Linked DNA regions of Homo sapiens: all the other regions are linked to region 4. The links are contacts of gene promoters, found by promoter capture Hi-C in blood cells and fetal thymus (Javierre and others, 2016). All regions are on one chromosome and are shown on one strand. The core of a region is centred on a gene start or on the middle of the fragment in contact, and the rest is flanking DNA. Distances in the headings are between cores, read along the strand shown.

What was found. Contacts are between HindIII fragments. The CHiCAGO score rates a contact against its expected background, and 5 or more counts as called.
Region 1: a fragment that was not itself captured here is called in contact with the fragment with the promoter of WDR7 in region 4 in 1 of 17 cell types (monocytes); the score reaches 5.7 in monocytes.
Region 2: a fragment that was not itself captured here is called in contact with the fragment with the promoter of WDR7 in region 4 in 1 of 17 cell types (monocytes); the score reaches 5.2 in monocytes.
Region 3: a fragment that was not itself captured here is called in contact with the fragment with the promoter of WDR7 in region 4 in 2 of 17 cell types (monocytes and fetal thymus); the score reaches 8.6 in monocytes.

Annotation. Positions count from the first base shown.
Region 1 is chr18:55,570,729-55,573,602 of GRCh38, forward strand. All of the region lies in intron 3 of TCF4 (transcription factor 4), which reads right to left. Among named protein-coding and RNA genes, the nearest start is that of TCF4, 16 kb to the right of the region's middle. The HindIII fragment of the contact is 967 bases long and covers 805-1,771 here.
Region 2 is chr18:55,459,377-55,462,504 of GRCh38, forward strand. TCF4 (transcription factor 4) reads right to left here. Exons shown (of 20, transcript NM_001083962.2): 5 at 1,643-1,739. The region is part of intron 1 of TCF4-AS1 (TCF4 antisense RNA 1); the gene reads left to right. Among named protein-coding and RNA genes, the nearest start is that of TCF4-AS1, 8.4 kb to the left of the region's middle. The HindIII fragment of the contact is 2,298 bases long and covers 674-2,971 here.
Region 3 is chr18:55,596,436-55,599,197 of GRCh38, forward strand. LOC105372126 (a long non-coding RNA gene) reads left to right here. Exons shown (of 3, transcript XR_935479.3): 2 at 645-728. It also overlaps a transcript of TCF4 not described here. Among named protein-coding and RNA genes, the nearest start is that of TCF4, 9.6 kb to the left of the region's middle. The HindIII fragment of the contact is 2,893 bases long and covers 1-2,762 here.
Region 4 is chr18:56,649,587-56,652,670 of GRCh38, forward strand. It overlaps WDR7 (WD repeat domain 7), which reads left to right and starts at 1,773. Exons shown (of 28, transcript NM_015285.3): 1 at 1,773-1,990. RefSeq lists an enhancer at 1,504-1,893. The HindIII fragment of the contact is 1,105 bases long and covers 901-2,005 here.

The DNA of each region.
Region 1 (2,874 bases), core at 38-2,537, 1.1 Mb before region 4:
AAAATTAGCTGGGTGAGATGTGTGTGCCTGTGGTCCTGCTACCCGGGAGGCTGAGGCAAGAGGATAACTTGAGCCCAGAAAGTCGAGACCAGACAGTGAGCCGAGGTTGCAAAACTGCCCTCCAAGCCTGAGCAACAGAGTGAGATGTGAGACCCTGCCTCAAAAAAAAAAAAAAAAAAAGACTATAATGGGATACATTTTCTATTTTATACCAGTAGACTGCACCAATAGTAATCCTTTATGCTACAGGTGGGAGTGCAGATCAGTAAGAATCTTTAAAAAACAACTGGACACTATCCTGCCATGCTGGACTTTCATGTAACTCTACAAACCAACAATTCTACTCATAGATATCCACTCATATACCCCACAGAGAAAGTCTTACACATGTGCATCAAGAGAAACATACAAGAAAGTTTGTAGTTCCAAAAAAGAGGAACACAAAGGTTCATCAACTGGAACATGCATAAATAAACTACAACCTATTCATCAGCAGAGAAAATTAACATACACCACATGCAACAACATGGACAATAACATACCAAGTGAAAAAGCAAGTAGCACAAAACAATCTATCAGTTTTATAATCCTCCAAAACAAGCAAAACCAAACAACATACAGTATTGTTTAGGGATACATATGCCAGTCACAATACTACTTTAAAAAGGGCATGAGAATGTTTCTCTCTGGCAGGAAAGATAGGGGAAGGTGGACAGGGAACAAACCCACAGGCCGGCCAATGGATCTGACATTGCTCCAGTACTTATGTTGGTGGTGGGTTCATAGATGTTCACTCCATTATTAAGCTTCACAACTTACATTTGTTACACAGATTATTCTGTAGGTATCAAGTATTATAAGATAAAATATGTTTTCTAATATTTGCTTGGGGTTAAATTTTGAAGCATGCAGTAGCAGCCTGTGTAGAAAACACTTAACAAAAGTCTTGCTAGGAAGGAAGTCAAGAAAGAGGCTATGGCCAGAGGGGAATGTGAATGAGAGGTAGAGGGTGTTTTTTTTTTTGTTATTATATGTTTTGTTTTTAATTATGAAATAATTCAAGCATAAAGAAAACACACATCATAATTCAGCCTCCAACCCATCCCCAGCTCTGTCAATCTTAATATTCTATCATATTTTCTTTTCAAAAAAAAAAAAAAAGCATTGTAGATGCTGTTGAAACTCTCTGTGTCCCTCCCAAAAGAAAGGTAATTAATTATAGTTCATTTCGTTTTAACTAAGAGTTACTAAAGCATCCCTGGATGCTGAGAGGTACTCTCTAGGAGGCAGAAACAGGACCAAGCACTGCCCACTTATCTCCACACTATGCTACCAATTCACCTGCAGTGGGCATGTGCTTTCAGGAGTTTTTTGCTTGGTATAGACAGTTCTATGTTCGTCTTGTTTCAGCACCCTCGTTTGAAGGACACAAAGAGCTCTAGGGTCATAGAACCAACTCTCACTAACTGACACAGATATCAGGATCCAACCCATGCCCACAGTATTACCCCAAGTCTCTAACTAGCTGGTGTAACCAATAATGGAAAGAAAAAAAGTAATATTCTGTTCTTCAACTTCAACAGAGAATAATAGTGAAAGAATGGTGATATTTTTCCTAAAATGGACTAACAAGTATCCTGAGTTGGGAGGTGACTTCCAATAGTAAACAATAAAATAACTGAGAAAATGGAGTGAGGAGGGAGGGGAGAGAGAGAGGTGGTCAACAGAAGAGAGCCAAATGGAATGTTAGCCAGGATTTGTAAAAAGGGGAAGCTTCATTTTGTTCCTAATCAGGAGTTACCAGGTAATTTCCTCCCTGTGACAAAATGCAATCTAACAATACTGCTGCAATCCCAGATAGAATACCACATAAATTAAACCACTCTCCTAAAGTCCACCAACAAAGACATTCAGTAACTTCTGTGGCTGTGCTACCTGATACCTGACCACAGGCAGGAGAAGTGAATTCAATTCAACAGGTCTAACTAAACCATCATAATGTTTACTGCTCATAAGAACATAGGCTATAAAAAGCCTAAACAGGGCTAGGCTCGGTGGCTCACGCCTGTAATCCCAGCACTTTGGGAGGCCGAGGTGGGCAGATCACCTGAGGTCGGGAGTTCGAGACCAGTCTGACCAACACGGAGAAACCCTGTCTCTACTAAAAATACAAAATTAGCCAGGTGTGGTGGCACATGCTTGTAATTTCAACTACTGGGGAAGCTGAGGCAGGAGAATCACTTGAACTCGGGAGGCAGAGGTTGCAGTGAGCTGAGACCGCGCCATTGCACTCCAGCCTGGGCAATGAGAGCTTAACTCCGTCTCAAAAAAAAAAAGCCAAAATGGTACTGAAGACCATTCAATAAGACCCACTTCCACCCCTGTACCCTCGCAGAATTGCAAACTCAATCTAACTTTTCTCAGAAAATAAAAGAGCACTTCTCTAGTTAGTGCTTGGTTGCTAAAAAGGCAGTGGCTATCACACAGCTGAATTAGGTCTCATAATTACTGTCGGAATGTATAAAGTATGGTAGATTTTCAAGTATTAGAAAGTTATAGGAAGTTTCACCAAAAAAAAAAAAAAAAACAAGTAGCCACTATGAATGCTCCCCAATGACCTAAAGGTACAGATTTCAAATAAAGTCTACAAAGTTAATTCTCCAACTTTACCACCCACACTGTAGAACCAGCAACCCTGTCTCTCACCTAAACTTCTGCAAAAACTTCACAACTGGTGTGGGCCACCCACAGTGACTCCCCTTTGGGTCCATGTCCCAGACACAAATCTGATTAGCAGCACACTGTCAAGGCTCCCTGTGGCTCAGTCTTGCGGGATCTGACACCTACCAACCCCCACCAGCCACAGCGGCTGGA
Region 2 (3,128 bases), core at 573-3,072, 1.2 Mb before region 4:
TAATTTATCAAGTTGTTCTTTAGAGTTAAAACTTTTTTCACATAGATAACATAAGCGTCTCCCTATGAGTATTTATTTATTCTATTTTTCTTACTGTAGCTCATTGGAGGATCATTTTAGGATCCAAGGAAGTTAGTATATTATTTAGGTGCTACTTCTCAAGACTACATTTTCAAGTGAATCTTTTATTCTAAGTGGTTGTGTGGAGATGAATAGAGAAGCAAGGGTGTTAGAAATAAAATCATAACTATTGACACTGAAGAGTCAAAAGCTGCCTTTTAAAATCTAAGTTGATAAATATATCTGGTCACCTGTATCTACATATCCTGAGAACAAGAAACAATGCACCTTTCTATCAACAACTGATAAAGAACTGGGATTCCTGCTTGAGTTACAATGTTAAAACGTAAATATGAAATTTACTACTTTGAAGGCAAAAATAGCACAAAAATAAGAACATTCTATGACCAAAACCAACTTTGTGGTTCTCAAAGTTGGTAAGATACTCAAAGGCACGAACATATGATGTTACCCATTAAAAATAAGTTGCTAGTATTTATCTGCTTTGACTATTTTGTGTTAAATATCTGAAATCCATTTAGATGGATTTGATGGTGATTTTTCAAAGAATGCCTGAGATTCAAGGACCTGAAGTAACTGGTATAGCTTCCAAAGCTTAAAATCATGACATTCTTTAGAAGCATTTGCAGTTATGGTCTCAGAAAAATATAATCATCGCTGTGTGTGTTTCCTTGGAGTGTTGTCCAACAGATTGTACCAAGAAATTTAACTTCACTTATTGACAGATTCTCAAGAGAATTTGGCCAGGTTGAGAGATTTACTAATATTGTTAAGAACTCATGTTTACTAGAACAAAGATCTTTTTTTTTTTCAATCAAAACTAAAGTAGCCAGCTATTGGGACCTTTTAAGCCATTAGGAATCATCTTTTCATTGCTCAAGTTACTGCTGTTAAACAAACATCCCTACAGGGTAGCCAAAAGCAGAAAAACATGCTGAGGATGCCAGGATGAATGGCATGCCGGAGATTCACAGACAGCCTCAAACTAACAGGTAACTTGCTTTAATAAAGCAGGATGGGGTCTGCCTAGGCCATTAGCACTAAAGTTCATGCCTTGATAAATATACAATCAGATTTTACAATTCAACTTGAATGCACTACTCTGATTTAAGCACACTAAGCCCATTAACACCATTTATTTTCATAACCCCTTTAGCAGAAATCACAGTTAACACTGACTATATATCACTGCCAACCAACAAGCCCAGTGATATTTTTATTCTAAATATTCACCACTTTGACTTCATCTACCTTAACTTAGGAAACTACTGATACAACATTGAAACTGTGGTCCGTGCTTTAGGTCTAAGGAAAACAAAATTTCCACATAGATTCAGTATCACTAAAAGCATTTCATTCCATATGCTTGTAAAACTTAATCCTTAATGCACTATTACCAAACACAGACTGCCAATCCTCTCTGCAATTTAAGATTATTACAAGTGAACTGACTAAATATCCAAGTTTCTAAAAGCAGAACCTCTGTCTAGGACATGGTTTTACCTTCTATAGTAAAACTTGAGCATTCAAAAAGTGTAAGTTAATTTAAAATGGGTCTTACTTTGTATTCTGGAATTGACAAAAGGTGGAGAGAGATTGTCATGTGACCCAAGGTCCCTGCTGGTCATGTGGTCATAGGGAGTCCCATCTCCATAGTTCTGTAAATAAAATGACAGTGTAAGTTATTATTTTATATTAATAAACAGCACATAAACAAACATAGCTCCACTACCAAAACTTCTCCCCTCCAAAGAAATTGGAGTCCACTATTCCCTCCCTGGAACTTCACTAGAAGGAATCTGCACTTTCACAGGTATAGTGGCTAAAAGAAAGCTCTAGAGTCTACGAAGTCCAAATTTTCCTCATAATAGCTGAGAAATCTTAGGAATAATAATAATGGTATCAACTGCATGGAGTTGTTGACATGATTAAATAAAATAGTGTATGTAAGACACCAGACACATACAAAGTATATTGCTTATGTTAAAAATTATTATTTTAATAAGGCCACATTAAAGCAAAATTGTGCCACAAGGGAAAATTAGGCATAGCATGCAATGAATTGCTTTTCAAAGACCAAGATAGAGCCATTCAAACAATAACATTTGGTGTTAGGATACTGAAGTTTCAATGTTTTATTATAGTTACTATTGTGGTATTGTGGTTGTAAGAGAACTAGATTGTCACATAAGTAATTAACACATAAGAAAGTTAAGAATATTAGGGTTTAACTAGGATATGAACATCAAAACATTAGCATAAATTAGCATTTCTGGAGTTGGACAAAGCATGTCACAAAAAACAACCAGTTGTAAGGCAGACAAATTTTGACAGAAATATTTCATTATTACAATCAGCTTATTGTTTTAAGGGGAATTTAAAATTAAAACAATGTTCTTAAGCTGTCCAGTTACTTAATTTTAATGGGGAAATTTGATAACGCAATAGGAAAGAGTTAAAATCATCTATACTACATGGTTCAACTTTCAGTCTACTAAAGTGCATAAAGTGACCAAAAAGGGGGGAAAAAGTCATTCTGCTCAGCTGGTGGAACTGCCCATGAAAGTCTAAGTCAAATTTACTCAGAGGTATCGGTTGCATGTGAGCCAAAGGGCAAAATCTGCCCACACAAAAGAGAGGGCTGCTGCATGAACAAGGAAAAGACACATCCCCTCAACCTTAAGGAAAACTACCCCGTTCTCAATCACCTTTCCTCGTGTATAACAATTAACTTGCCTGATACTGTAATCTAATTCTGCCAACATGTCCATCTATAAAAAGAGGCTACATTTTAAATACCCATCATAGTACACTCACTCACTCTATACCAGGCATTGCATAATGCTAATTATCACTTATTAAGTGTCCTCATCCTAGATAGTGTACTAAAAGCTTAATATATATTATCTAATTTAATCCTCAGCACAGTGCTGTAAGGTAGACACTATCCCCATGTTAAGATGAAAAAAGAGAGACCTTGAAAGTACGCCTGGGTATAAATCTGCCACAAATGATTTGTCTCATGCAAACTTCTGGATTTAGAAAAT
Region 3 (2,762 bases), core at 72-2,571, 1.1 Mb before region 4:
ATATCAAATTAAATATAAAATACTGGCAAAAGCACTTAGCTCATTCAACAGTTGTAACCTAGTAATTAGGATACATATGCTTTAATGCCACATTTTTCATATGTCGACTAAAGTGTTAAAACTCAGGAAGTTTGGATCCATTAGCTTTTTTTCACAATGTGTGGAACCTTTAGAATCGTGCATGTGACAACAGTGATCAGATGTGCCTGAGAAGAACACGTTTCTTTAATGGTCATGAAATTGATTTAGATCAACTTTTTGTTTTTGTTTGTTTGAAGTGAAATGGCATAACGGAAAATACTAACTTGCATCATAACAAGAGTATTGCTGATTTACAAAAGTCTTGTTTCAGCTGTATAATATACAGTATAGTACATGCATACTAGGTTATCATAAAAAAAAAAGTTTATAGCCACTGCTCAAGTAGATGGGTGATATGGTTTGTCTCTGTGTCCCCACCCAAATCTCATGTCAAATTGTAATCCTCAGTGTTGGAGGAGGGGCCTGATGGGAGGTGATTGAATCATGGGGGCGGACTCCCCTTGCTGTTCTCATAATAGTGAGTGACTTCTCATGAGATCTGGCTGTTTAAACGTATGTAACCCTTCCCCTTCGCTCTCTCTCTCCTGCTGTGCCATGTGAAGATGTGCCTGCTTCCCCTTTGTCTGCTGTGACTATAGGTTTCCTGAGGCCTCCCCAGCCATGCATCCTGTACAGCCTGTGGAACTGTGAGTCAATTAAACTTCTTTTCTTCATAAATTACCCAGTCTTAGGTAGTTTCTTATAGCAATGTGAGAACAGTCTAATGCAATGGCCCTCATTGCTTTGCTAGCAAGGGTATTCATGAAGTCTATTATGGGATTATAATGGAGAGGAGAAAAGAAAGCTAATCATCTTTGCATTCTATTTCTTCTCAAACTGCATGATATTTCAAACCCGAGAGCTGCTTTCCCCCTTCCCTCTCCCCCAAAGAAAAGGAGATGGTTAAAAAGGCTGAGGTGGGCGGATCACCTGAGGTCAGAAGTTCAAGACCAGCCTGGCCAACATGGTGAAAGCCTGTCTTTACTAAAAAAATACACAAATTAGCTGGGTGTGGTGGTGTGTGCCTGTATCCCCAGCTACTCAGGAGGCCAAGGCACGAGAATCACTTGAACCTGGGAAGCGGAGGTTGCAGTGAGCCAAGATTGCAGCACTGCACTCCAGCCTGGGTGACAAAGCAAGACTCTGTCTCAAAAAAAAAAAGGTAAAAGTTTAAAAAGAGTAAATAATATAGAAGGAATGAAAGAAATTTTGGAAAACAGATAATCTTTTGCCTATTCCAAAGTGCAGTAAAATAATTGCACTTAATATATCTAATCTGGATTTTAAAATCCTCCAAAAGCTGCCCTCCAACCCCCTCCCCACCTAACTTTTCCAACTTTATTTCCATATCCTCTCCTAAAGGAAGTCTTTGCTCTAGTCAGTTAAGCATAGGACACATGACATTGAGGACACAAGACATTGAGCAGTTTGTCTATGAAAAGCACTATGCAAGGGGCAATGAAGAATTCATTCAAGATGAAAAACTGGGGCCCTTAACTTCCCAGCCTTTACATGCTAATGGGTAGGCTAGACAAGAATAAATCACCCAAACCCCTGACAAACTATATAGAGAGTTATCAAGTGGTAAAATCATGCCGTAAAACTATAATGCAAGGAGTCATTGCTATCAGCTGGAGAGATCTTAGAAGGCTTCTTAGAAGAGATGAGACTAGAGTTGAATCTGGAAAGAAAAGTGGTATTCCCATGAAGCAGATAGAGAGAAAAGAATGTCCTGGGCTGAAGCATTAACTCTGGCAAAGATGAGAAGGCTAGAGAGTAAGGATCTTGTTAGGGTTTGTGAGAAGAACCAAAAGACTAAACTGTTAAAACCCAGCAAATTTGGATCCATTGGCCTTTTTTCTATTTTGTATTTTTTATTTTTTTATTATACTTTAAGTTCTGGGATACATGCACAGAACGCGCAGGTTTGTTACATAGGTATACATGTGCCATTGGCCTTTTTTCACAATGCATGGAACCATTAGGATGATCACATGGTGGCAGTGATAAGATGTGCCTGAGAAGAACATTCTGGAGGCAACATGGAGGATGAATTAAGGTAAAAAGAAACTGAAGGCAGAGACCAGTTAGAAAGCTACTGCAGTTCACTTAACTACTGCTTATGAGATTCTGAAATAGGGCTGTGGCTATGGCCATGAAAACGAGCATTCAAGAAATGCTGTGTATAGATTAGCAGAAAAGCCATCAGGGTTGCGAAGCAATAGAAAAATCAATTCAAACTGGCTTAAATGATAAAGGGCTTGCAAATCCAAAAAGGTTTAGAGCCATCAAATACAGCTCCAGCTTCATTTCTCTACTTTTCTCTCAACTCAGCCCAATTTTATGTCAGGCTAACTCCCTCATGATACCAAGATGGCTACCAGTAAAAATGGAAGCAATCACTCTTTTGTTTGCCTCTAGACGGAGATAGCTGTTGGTGCCCCCTGAACCTTGAAACTAAAGCCTCAGCTGAGGTGAGACTGGACCATTTTAGGAATATACTTGCCTTTGACTCAAATTATGTCATGACTGGTTTACATTCATCCCTAAGTAATTATGTTGCTGAGACTCAAATCTATCAAAGCCTACCCTTGGAGCTGAGTGAAGATTATCCTACATAATACCCAAGGCTTCTCAACTGGTGGGGAGGGAAGATGAGTGTTGAAGAGAAAGCTCAAGAT
Region 4 (3,084 bases), core at 523-3,022:
TATATATATATGCCTCTAAAATGGTGAAATTCCCGATTTTATCCTGTGGGTCTCATTTATGATTCTTTTGCAGTGATAACCATACATTTTTGGTTACAACAACAATGACGACATCTCACTTGTCTCCTTGCTTCCCTGTATTTCCCACCTGATTTACATGGCACATTGCTGCCAAATTAATATTTGTGGCTGGCCCATCTTAAGTGACCCCGATAAGTCACACTCTTGTATAATCCTTTCTCCTTGAGTACAGATAAAACCCGTGACTTACTTTAACCAATAATATATGGCAAAGGTGATGGCTGTCACTCCCTAATTTAGGTTATCATCTACATCCATTTCCATATCTATGTCCATGTCCATATCCATGGCTGTATCTATATCTGTGTGACTCCTTTCTTGTGCTCAGTAGAGAGATTCTCCTTGCTAGCTTTGAAGGAGTATGCTGCCATGTTGCGAGAGAGCCTTTAGTAAGGCCCATGTGGTAAGGAACTGTGGGTGGCTGCTAGGACCTGATGGCCACTTCCAGTTCAGAGCCAGTAAGAAGCCAGGGCCCCTAGTCAGACAGCCACAAGGAACTGAATGAGCTGACAGGAGTTTGGAATCAGATTCTTCCCTAGTTGAGCCTCCAGATGAGAATTGCAGTTTGGCTGACATCCACTTGTAGCCTTGTGAGAGCATGAGCACAGGACTCAGCTAACCTGTTCCTGACCTCCTTGCCCATGGAATGTGAGGCAATACATATGTGTTGCTTTAAGCCACTAAGACACTAAGACTGTGATAATTTGTTGTAAAGCAATTTTAAAAACCTGAATACCATGTGGTTAGGAAAAGTGCTACACTATTTATTAGTCAAAAGTCTTCAATTACTTTTCATTGTCTTTGGAATAAAGACCAAAAAGCTTATATGGCCACTAAAAGCCTCTTGTTATCTACATTATTCTATTTTTCCATGTTACTTTTTTATTACCTGGTCTAGGCCGAATGTGATGAAGTCTCTATCAACCCACAAGAGAGCTCCAGGGCATAGACTGCCTGTTAAAGGAGCCGCTCACGGAGCAGAAACAGCTAAGCCCTGATACCACATTTTCCCACTTCACCTACTTCACGTCCCTTGTATTTCTTCCAAATTTAACTTTCTATTTATTGCATATATTCATGTTTTACATTTCAATGCTGGTGACAAAGTTGTTTTCCTTTCCCAATTATTATTCCAAATCTGACCAATTTTTCTAGACTTCCATATGACCTAATGTGATTATCCTTCCTTACCCCAACCTAGAAATAATTCATCTCTTTTCTTCCTTGCTCCTTATTTGGCATTTCTCATCCTGCACTATACTATAGCTTATCTATCTTGGGGGACATTTGTCATTCTTTTTAGCTTTCCAGCATCCAACATACTTTCCAGTGTTTAGGGAATTCCCTACCTCTTGCATCTCAGTGGGAAGCAGTGTGATGGGGTCAGAAGTGTAAACTTGCGCAACATCCTGCTCCCAAGAAAGACGTGCACTTGCTACTTCATCCTTCGCTCCATCTTGGTCCTCCCAACTGGAGAGAGGACAGCCTAGACGAGACTTCCCACAACCAAGATGGCGGCCGTGCACTCCTTGCCCACAGCTGGCCTTTTCTCCACTTTCGGTCTCCATCGTAACGCGGCTGGCTCTCTCGGCGCCGGCTTAGGCCTTGCAAGTAGGGAAATGGTGAGTCTTTCCCGCCCCCTCATTTTTGCGACAGTTGCAGCGAAAGTCACGGCAGTTGGGGCTGGTGTCAGCTGATTTACTGCAGTGGCGGCGGCGGCGGCACCGGCACCTTGCAGTATCACTGGGGAGACGGCGGCTGTATAGCGCTTGCCGCCCCACGGATTATCCCAGCAGGATCTACGCACCCCGCATCCTCCGTAGTTCCGCCCTATCCTTGTCCTCCTTGGCTGGGGCGCCCACCGGCGGTCTGATAGGCTACATCGCGGCATGAGATGAAGCTGTGACAGGTAAGGGGGCTTTCAAGCTTCTCCATGGGAAACCACAGGGCGGGATGTTCCTGCACCGTGGAGGTCAGGGGTCAGGGGTCAAAGGTCACAAACCCGCTCTAGCCGGGGGCGGTGCTAGCTGTCAGATCGCTGCGGCTGCAAGCCTGCAGGTCGGGCCCAAAAGTAGGCGCCGTTACCAAGAGCGTGGGGGCCAGCCGGGGGTCTTTGTGGCTCCCTTGCCTGGTGAGTGATATTTGCTACTTGTGACAGTTGCTTTGGTCTTGAGGTGGGACTGCCTGGTTCCCAGGTGCAATCTAAACGGGATCAGGTGATTGGTGATGATCGTTGGTGGTTATTGACAGCAATTTTGGGCGATGTGCTTGCTTTTGGGGTTCATATAGTCTTTCCTTTCCTGTTGGTACTATTTTTGCCCATGCCCAAGGTACTGACACCACTGTTAGAATTTCATTTTTGAGATGCCATCTGCCAGTTCTTATCCCTTTGCCCTAGTACTTGTCTGAGCGGATGCCAGTCACTCCCATTCACTTAGTGATGGGTCCCAGCGTTCTGAAGCTATGTTTGAAGTCAGCACTACCCTAACTTTGATTCAAAAATTGCTGTTTTATGTTTTTTACCCACTTAGTATGTCACTTTTTGAGGCAGAATTTGCTGGGTTAGATAGTCTGAAACTAGGGAACCTACCGTCGCATGACAGGCTGCATTGATATTGTTGATGCTGCTGAATTTAGGGTTCGGTCAGTGGCAGCTATAGCTTCCTCTCACTGTAATATTTGCCATGAGACAAAAAAAGGCAAACTGACTCTTTCAGGTGTTTATGTCTTAGGATTTTATGGGCAAGGTTGCAGGAATTGCCTGTTGTATGAAAGAAATTAACTGAGTTTTTGACATTTTGTAAAACAAAAATTTTAGTTTGACTCTGCTTCTTGCTTTATAAACAAACTCGTGGCTGTATGAAGGTCAGCTTAAAAGTGAACATAATGTGTTGAAATGCCCTCATTATTACAAAGAATAAAAAACTGTCTAGTTCCATCCAGAACAATACATATTAGTTATTATAAATTGGGAAAACGAACCACTATAAATATAATTAATGC